Linked DNA regions of Homo sapiens: regions 1 and 3 are each linked to region 2. The links are contacts of gene promoters, found by promoter capture Hi-C in blood cells and fetal thymus (Javierre and others, 2016). All regions are on one chromosome and are shown on one strand. Each heading gives the region's core, a stretch centred on a gene start or on the middle of the fragment in contact. The rest is flanking DNA. Distances are from core to core; before and after follow the strand shown. Region 1 holds the start of PPP4R2 (protein phosphatase 4 regulatory subunit 2). Region 2 holds the start of KBTBD8 (kelch repeat and BTB domain containing 8). Region 3 holds the start of FHIT (fragile histidine triad diadenosine triphosphatase).

Region 1 (2,700 bases), core at 60-2,559, 6.0 Mb before region 2:
TCCAGGACAGGACAAACTTCCTTTTTCCCCCTCTTCTCAAAATCTAGATGAAGGAAGAAAAAAAAACGTTATCAGTTTTCTCAAAAGCGCTCTAAAAACAAACTTTCCTCCTAGTCCTTTACCTTATTAAAAATCAATTAAATACAAAATTAAAAAAATAAGGCCTCTCAACCAAATTACCACCTCAATCCTCCAAGTTCTACTTCCAACATGTCACCCTCTTTACAGATAACAAGAATCCTCCTAAAGGGGGCACTCAACTTCACAAACCATTTTTAACGCAGTGCTTCTCGAAGTGTGGTCCGGGGGAACACCAGCATTATATTAAGCTGGGAATCCAGTGAAAATAAAAATCCCCAGGCCCCGACTCCCACCAATTGTTCATCTAAGTCCATAAATCTGCCTTTCTAAGAAGCACCAACTACCCCAAGTTGCCGTCCCCAAATGATTCTGAATGTCAAAGAATAATTCTCAAAACGCTGAAATCTCTCTACTCGAAGTTTGTAAGCCACTGTTCTCAAGCCTGTTGCGTGGAAGGCGTGCAATCAAGAACAGTGAAGGCAACCACCTCGAAATTAGGGCGCGGAAAGATGACTTCAAAAGCCCTGAAAAAGGCATACTGAGACAACTTAAAAGTTGCGATGCTACCCCCTACCCCCGCCCCCACCAACCGTTTACTTTTTCTCCCACCCCAACGCCTAGCGTACGGGTAGCCTGGTGGAGAAAAGAGGATATCTGGGAGGGAGGGGTCTGCGGGTCCGCCACTCGTCCCCTGAACGGGTGGGAGAAAGACTGGGGCCCCCGCAAGAGTTTCCCCGGCTCCCCTCCCCCAGCCCAGACGCCGGCGGCCGACACAAAGCCAGAGCGGGGCGGGAGAGAGCTGCCCACAGGGCTCCCCGCCCCTGGGGAGGTGGAGGGGGATGGGAGCCCGGGAAGCACTCTCCCCACGCCGCGCCCGGCCCCGGTCCTCGGAACCATCCGCCCTGAAAGGAGAGAAGAGCGAGCCGGAGAAGGTGAGGGGGAATGGAGAGGGGGCAGCTACCCCCACCTTTCAGCGCCTCCTGGAGCCTCTCGACGTCCATGGCTTCCCGGAGTCCCTCACAGCCTCCGCCTCCCTCCGCGGGTCTCTTGGGGACCGGAACGCCTCCCCCCACCCCCCCGACGCCCTCCCCCTCCCTCGCACACACTCCGGCACGCAGGCGACCGGGGGGGGGAAACGAAGGGAGCCGGGGGAAGCGTGCGAGAGAGCAAGACCGACAGAGCGAGCACCTCCCCAAGCCGCTACCACCAACCCTCCAACATGGCGCCCGGTACGTCACCGCGCGCACGCTCCCTGCCGCCGTCCTCGCTCCCGCCGCGCGCTCCGGCCCGGAACCCGAGAGCGCGTGCGCGGCCGAGGTGTGACGCTGGGGCCCAGTGGCGTCTGCGTCCCGGCGGCTTCCAGAGCCTCAGCCCCAGCCCCAGCCCCAGGCCCAGGCTCCGCGGAGCTGAAGACTGGACGGTCAGGCGAGAGGGTTGCAGGCGGACTCCTAGGCTTTGAATCCCTGCCATTTCCTCTCTGTGTGAACTTAAGCTACTTACTTCGCCTGTCTGAGCCTCATTTTCCCCATCTGTACAGTAAGGGCACTGGTACTGATGCCCTATGCAGTTGCTGTGAGAATTCAGTGTATACACTTCACGTTCAGAATGCGCCTAAAAAACGTAGAGCGAGGCCGGGCAGGGGGCTCAGGCCGGTGATCCCAACACTTTGGGAGGGAGGCCGAGGCGAGAGGATCGCTTGAGCCCAGGAGTTCGAGACCAGTCTGGGTAACAAAATGACCCCGCTCCCTCGCCCTTCTCTATATAAAAATAAATACAGGCCGGGCGCGGTGACTCAAGCCTGTAATCCCAGCACTTTGGGAGGCTGGGGCGGGCGGAGCACCTGAAGTCAGGAGTTGAAGACCAACCTGGCCAACATGGCGAAACCCCGTCTCTACTAAAAATACAAAATGTAGTCGGGCGTGGTCGCTCGTGCCTGTAATCCCAGTTACTCGGGAGGCTGAGGCACGAGAATCGCTTGAATCCAGGAGGCGGAGGTTGCAGTGAGCCGATATCGCGCCACTGCCTCCAGCCTAGGCGACAAAGCGAGACTGTTTCAAAAAAATAATAATAAAATTAACAATACATACATACACTAAGCATTGCTAATAATCCTAACAAGAATACCTCCCTGCTTAACCCAACGTTCGTTCGTCACTGGCCCACCTGTGGCAAGAAGTAATGTATACAGCAAAGTCATTAAGAGCTCAAGGTTTGGAATCAATATTCAAATCCCAACTCAACTACTTACTCCTTGTGTGGCCCTGAAGTAGTTACCTAAACTCAGGCAGCTTCAGGGTTCTTATTTATAAAATGAGGGTTGTAAAACGGCCACGAGGATTGAGTGAAATGGCAAATGTGAAACATTTGGCACAGTGCGTGAAACCTGGAACACTCAACGTGGCTGGGTTTTTATTACCACTGTTAGCATTATTACATGACATAATCTCCCAGGAGGTAGGAGAGGGCGGAAACCTCAGAAGTCCTCTGCAGCCCTGACATTTTACAAATGGGAAAGCTGTGTCACAGACAGCAAGTCTGGGGAGACAGAACTAGAACCCAGAACCCAAATCATCTGGCTCCCAGCCAGTGCGTGGACATTTTTATACTCATCTGTGAGCT
Region 2 (2,700 bases), core at 110-2,609:
AGAAATTCTAGATCAGCACTGTCCAATAAAATTGTCAATGATGAAAATGCTGTATTTCTGTGCTGCCCAATATGGCAGCCACTAGCTGCAGGTGACCAGCAAGCACTCAAAAAGTATTTAGTGTACCTGGGGAACTAAATGTTTTATTTTATTTAACTTATAATTTAAGTTTAAACAGCCACACATGGCTACTGGCTTCCATACTGACCAGCACAAGTCTAGATTTTCTGGTCATTTACCTCAAACACACACACACAGGCCCACTAACTTAAAAAGCAATCACCCGAAATCTAGAAGAATCCCTCAAGTCAAAAGAAGGTCTTAGTTAAGAGAGGACTTGTTTTCTAGTCTCAAGAAACAAAGTCATTGGTTTCATTTCATTATCGCATCTCAATATAAACATCAAGTGGACAATACTGAGGGGGAAAGGGAGCTTGGTGCAGATACCAACAGAAGTTCCTACCATCATCATACCTGAAGTAAGGGCTGATTGCAGCAAGAACGTTTCTATGACAGGAAAATGTTTTCCCGTGATCCACTTCCACTACAATGTCTGTCAACTGTCCTTCATCGTACATTGTTTTGAGTTGCTTAAGAATACTGCAAGCATGGAAGGGGTCCATGGCATCGCTGGCTGGGTCTGAAGATGGAATCCCATTCGGTGTTGGGGAAGACTTACTTAAATCTAGGAGGAGAAAAATCGTACAACTACAAGAAGTGCCGAGCCAGTTACGGCATCGCGGGATTTTTCTGTTTGTGTGTCTGCTTGCTAGGCTTTTTCCCCCTACAAGATATATACAAATGTCTGTGGATATACGCACGACCTCGTGGGACCGCGAGTTAAGGATCTGGGAGACAGAGGGCGGAGCGCGATCGGCGGAACAAGTTCAAAGGCCAGCCTGCTCCTGCGGAGCCCGGCGAGCCCGGCACCCGTGCTCGCGGAGGAAACGCGCTCGCAGCCCAGGAGAGGCGTCTGCGCGGACTCCGCCGAGAGCCGAGGGCAGAGCCTCACGAGGGAAGCTCGAACAACGGCGGCCGCCGGTGCCCCCTCAAGCCGCCTCCCGCTGCCTCCTGGGGCGCAGCGCCGGCGGGTACCCAGCCTCCCCATCCCGGTCCCGCCGGACCGCCCACCGCCCTCCGCACCATTCATCCTCCCTCTTCTCATTCCCCTCCACCGCTTCATCCTTCCCTCTAGCTCCGCACCGCTACGTCCTCATCCCACTGCCTGTGGCCGGCCCCGGCCCACCTTCCCCCTCACCTCCCTCCACGCCGCCCTGGCCACCACACGACCCACCTGCCGACGCGGCCATTTCTCGATGGGGCCCCGACTCCAGCTATTTAAAAAGGAAATGTCATTTCGCTTCTCTAGCTCCCGGGTTCCGGCTCTTCTAAGCTTCCCCTGGCCAATGGGGTGTCCTGTGCATCTGGCTCCACCCCTAGCCTCCGAATTCCTGGCGCTGATTGGCCACGACGCGAGCACATGCGTGTCGGGAAATGTAGTTTGATTGCCCCGGCTCCCGCGTGGTCCGGGTCGGGCGGAGGCCCAAGCCGGGAATTCCTATTGGCTGATTCGGATGGAGGTGGAGAGCAGGGAGCTGGCCAGCCTGTGGCCGTCGAGCGCGCAGTGCCTGCCGGGAGAGGTAGTCTTCTGGCGGAGGAGAACTGTCATTCTGAGGGGCTGGGGTAGGGAAAGCTCTTCAAGTGCGAATTTCCCCATTTTAGGCCTCTCTCCTGGCCCCCGGCACATTTTTTTACCTTTTTCTTCTTCCGTAAACTTCCTGCCAGTGACTAGCTTCCGGTATGAAATCAAGCTCTGCGTGAGAGCTGTAAAACCAGAAAAATGTGGAAATGGACAGGAGGGCTGTTGTCCAAAAATGCAAAGGAAATCTGACGTCCCACCCTGAAGAAAAATATCACAAGGCCCAAAAGCAAGGCGTCTCTGATGAGTCACCTATGACACCCAATTGAAATAGCATCGCCTTGGCCGGGTGCTCTGGTTTCCACAGATTAACTTGGTCTGGTTACAGCGGCTGCTTAGGATCTTCAACTCCCACTGGTGCCTTGCTTTTCTAGCACACCCAGAGAACACCTGTTCCTCACGTGAACATTACAAGGGGATCCAAGATGCTTTACTTTTTGCTCTTGGGAAATGGAGGGGATACAATACTAAGTATTCCGGAATTTCCTTTGAAAAAATACCGGAATGCCCTGAGCCCGGAGCCAGGGATGATTACTGAAGCCCTGGCTCTTTAGTCACTATATGTGAGAACTGACATAAGACCTTTCAACCCCTGAGCGCTTAGATCCTTCATCTGTAACGTGAAGTAATAGTAATCCGTACTCCATGGATTTCATAGGCTGCAACCTTTTGGAAAGAAAATCAAAATTTTACTGTTGACGAATTTTTATTTACTCATCTTGTGTTTCTAACATCTAACGGGGTGCCTGGCACATTATAGATGTTTCATATTTTAAAAATAAATGTAAGGTGCAAATGAGCTAACATTGGGAATGCTATTTCTAGATGTTAAAATGTAAGGAAGTATCAGCGAATGGGAAGAATTTCTAGTAGACATATAGTTAGCCCGTGTGCATAACTTTTCTAGCACTGAAAAGATCAAACCGTTGAACTTCTTGATAAAGAAAGGATCTTGGAATTTAAATTGTGATTGAGAAAGAGAAATAATTATGAAAAACAAT
Region 3 (2,700 bases), core at 80-2,579, 5.7 Mb after region 2:
AGTCAAGCTTCCAAGGACATCAGATTTTCACACCAGGACACTTTGTAGGACACCTTGCTACTCTCCATGGGATTCAAATATTAGAAATAATGAGAGATCTAAGACTTGATGTAATTGCCTGCATGTAATGAATCAGGCCAAATAAAAAAGTGAGAGACAGAGAAAGGAAATGGTGCTAAGGAAAATGGGGACCTATCTTAGTGTTTGTCTGAGAGAAAACTGCTCTTTGTTTTTCCCGATGTAATGGCAAGAGTCTGCAGCCAGGAATCTAGTCCTTGCTTAGGAGCTGCATGACCTTGTGAAAATTACGTAGGTGTTCTGCAATTTGTAATTGCATTTATTGTAAAATTAATTTTACTTTTCATACGTCACTAGACAGAGCATTTTGAGGTTAGGAATTGGGTCTGAATCAATGATTTCTCCAGCACCCACATGGCATTTGGCACAGAATACATCAATAATGATTTTGGATTAAACAGGGGAACAAGCACAAGGAACCATGGTGGTCAGAAACGGGTTGATCTGCACCAGAGAAAGGGAGACTAGGGGAGAAAGGTCACTCTAGATTTCGTTCAATTATTGAAAATACGGTGTATTTACTATGTGCTGGGCACTTTTCTAGGTGCTAGAAAGACTACAGTGACCAAAACAAAAATCCACATCTGCAGGGATCTTGCATTCTAGTGAGAAAGTAAGATGGTAAAAAAGATAAATACGTAAATTTTATACAATGCTTCGTAACGACAAATGCTAAGGAGAAAAACAGCACAGAAAAGACAGAAAGGAAAAGAGAAGGGGCGCATGTGGTGCAATTTTGTTAGGATGCCAGGGAGGGCTGAGCGTAGTCGTAAATGACCACATTATTTGATGGATCAAGCCAGGGACTGCAAGTCTGTGTTTCTGAGAGACACATAAAGAAAAGAAGGCTTAAGGAATCCAGAAAGATCCAGAGTGGGGAAATGAAACGAAAAGAAATCCAGCCAGTGGGAAGTCGTGAAGGGATAGTTAAACGCGTTTTGGGAGGAAAGAAAAAAGCAAAAGTGCGGTACAGCCTTTCGTTACACGTGAAAAGAATCATGTTTCTTTTTCTAGTTAGAAAAAGCCAAAGATTGTGCGATTTATGCCCCAAACCCCCTTGTAAGGGGATTCTCACCTCAACTTGTCTTCTGTGGTCAGTGTTTCCCGCCCCTGAATCAGGGTTACTGTCACTATGGCTTTCAATTGGCCCGGCGTAGGCGCATGCTCTGCGCGTATTGGCCTCCGCTCCTGTCCCCAGACAAGCGGCCATCTTGGGTCCCGCCCCTACCGTGGGGTCTTCTGGGAATTGCAGTCCCCGCTCTGCTCTGTCCGGTCACAGGACTTTTTGCCCTCTGTTCCCGGGTCCCTCAGGCGGCCACCCAGTGGGCACACTCCCAGGCGGCGCTCCGGCCCCGCGCTCCCTCCCTCTGCCTTTCATTCCCAGCTGTCAACATCCTGGAAGGTAGGGGCGGGGAGGCAAGCCCAAGTGGAATACTGTTTCTGGGGCGCGGGTCTGGGTTTCCACGCGCGTCAGGTCATCACCCCGGAGCCCAGTGGGGCCGGCGCCGCTCACGGGGCGGTGGGCTTCTGTCCCGAGTACTCTTCCGCCCCACGAGGGTCTCAGGGTGGGGACTCGGGCCCCCCAATTCCCAAGCACCGACCCTAGCCCTAACCCGTTCCTCCTCCACCGTGTTTATACATTGGGGAAACTGAGGCACGGGGCCACGCCAGCGGGTCCGGGGACGCCACAGCTCTTGGCTCTGGGGGTGTAGTCGGCACCCGCCGTTTTGGGATGGTTCGTCAGTTTCATAGACAAGTAGCGAAAATCCGTCCCAACAGGTCTGTGTTAAACACGCAGCTCTGGATTCCCCTAAGGGGTTGCTGAACACGTGCCCAGGACAGGAGCAAACCGGAGTATAGAGAAGGCAGCATTTTGGGAGATAATTTTACATTACTACTTCAAAAACAGGCAAAGAGGCATCGAATTTATTGTTGTGGGAGAACTCATCGGTACTTGGTCGGACTTTCTTACACTTATTTTATGGTTGTTGTTTTTATTTTTAGCGTCAAAGGGGGGAATTTTAAAGGTATATCCAAGTTGGTGGTGGTGGGGGGTAAGGAGGCAGGTTAGTGGAACTTGAGATGCATCTGCAGATTTCTCTGTAGGCTCACATTCTGCCCTCGCTGTGTTACCTTGGAACAGCCACTCACAGCGCTTATCTGGGAAACAAGGAGCTCAATGCTCCCAGGTCAAGTGGCCAAAGGATGTTGCCTGAAGCCGAAATCTAAATTGAGGTTATGCTTGTGAAAGTTTACCACTTGCAGATTTACTGCTATTATTATTCTGGTCTCTCAGAAATGTGCTGGGACCAATAGAAAATACTCACAGTGGTTGTTTTAGTAAGGTTCTGACCTGGGCCGGGCCCAGACTACCAAGGGTGGTCCCTACTCGCACCTGATGTTAAGCCGGATCTACCTGAACTCTCCCTCCTTGGCTTCAGCCTGCGGCCTGAGGCCTTGGCCGCGGAGGCTTCTGGGAGTTGCAGTCCCGCCTCTTGTTTCTCGTCGGGCAGGTACTCCACCTCGTGGCGTGCCATTTTGCACGGCGAGATGTCTCCTGGGAGACGAAGTCTCGCTTCTAGCCGTTCTGTAGAGCAGCCGCTTGACTCGGAACTACAACTC

What was found. The method cuts DNA at HindIII sites, captures the fragments that hold promoters and counts their contacts. A CHiCAGO score of 5 or more calls a contact.
Region 1: a contact is called between the fragment with the promoter of PPP4R2 here and the fragment with the promoter of KBTBD8 in region 2, in 3 of 17 cell types (total B cells, total CD4 T cells and fetal thymus). The highest score is 5.8, in total B cells.
Region 3: a contact is called between the fragment with the promoter of FHIT here and the fragment with the promoter of KBTBD8 in region 2, in 1 of 17 cell types (fetal thymus). The highest score is 8.8, in fetal thymus.

Annotation. Positions count from the first base shown.
Region 1 is chr3:72,995,420-72,998,119 of GRCh38, reverse strand. It overlaps PPP4R2 (protein phosphatase 4 regulatory subunit 2), which reads right to left and starts at 1,309. Exons shown (of 9, transcript NM_174907.4): 1 at 1,049-1,309; 2 at 1-43. The coding sequence starts at 1,082. LOC124909395 (a long non-coding RNA gene) reads left to right here and starts at 929. Exons shown (of 2, transcript XR_007095961.1): 1 at 929-1,013. RefSeq lists enhancers at 325-374, 1,635-1,684 and a silencer at 825-1,454. The HindIII fragment of the contact is 5,282 bases long and covers 1-2,700 here.
Region 2 is chr3:66,996,966-66,999,665 of GRCh38, reverse strand. It overlaps KBTBD8 (kelch repeat and BTB domain containing 8), which reads right to left and starts at 1,359. Exons shown (of 4, transcript NM_032505.3): 1 at 1,295-1,359; 2 at 475-685. The coding sequence starts at 1,310. RefSeq lists a silencer at 942-1,261 and an enhancer at 1,602-1,701. The HindIII fragment of the contact is 2,180 bases long and covers 1-1,395 here.
Region 3 is chr3:61,250,081-61,252,780 of GRCh38, reverse strand. It overlaps FHIT (fragile histidine triad diadenosine triphosphatase), which reads left to right and starts at 1,329. Exons shown (of 10, transcript NM_002012.4): 1 at 1,329-1,480. It overlaps LOC124909387 (a long non-coding RNA gene), which reads right to left and starts at 1,189. Exons shown (of 2, transcript XR_007095939.1): 1 at 1,154-1,189. RefSeq lists enhancers at 1,232-1,526, 1,591-1,650, 1,781-1,910, 2,051-2,180, 2,461-2,700. The HindIII fragment of the contact is 4,935 bases long and covers 10-2,700 here.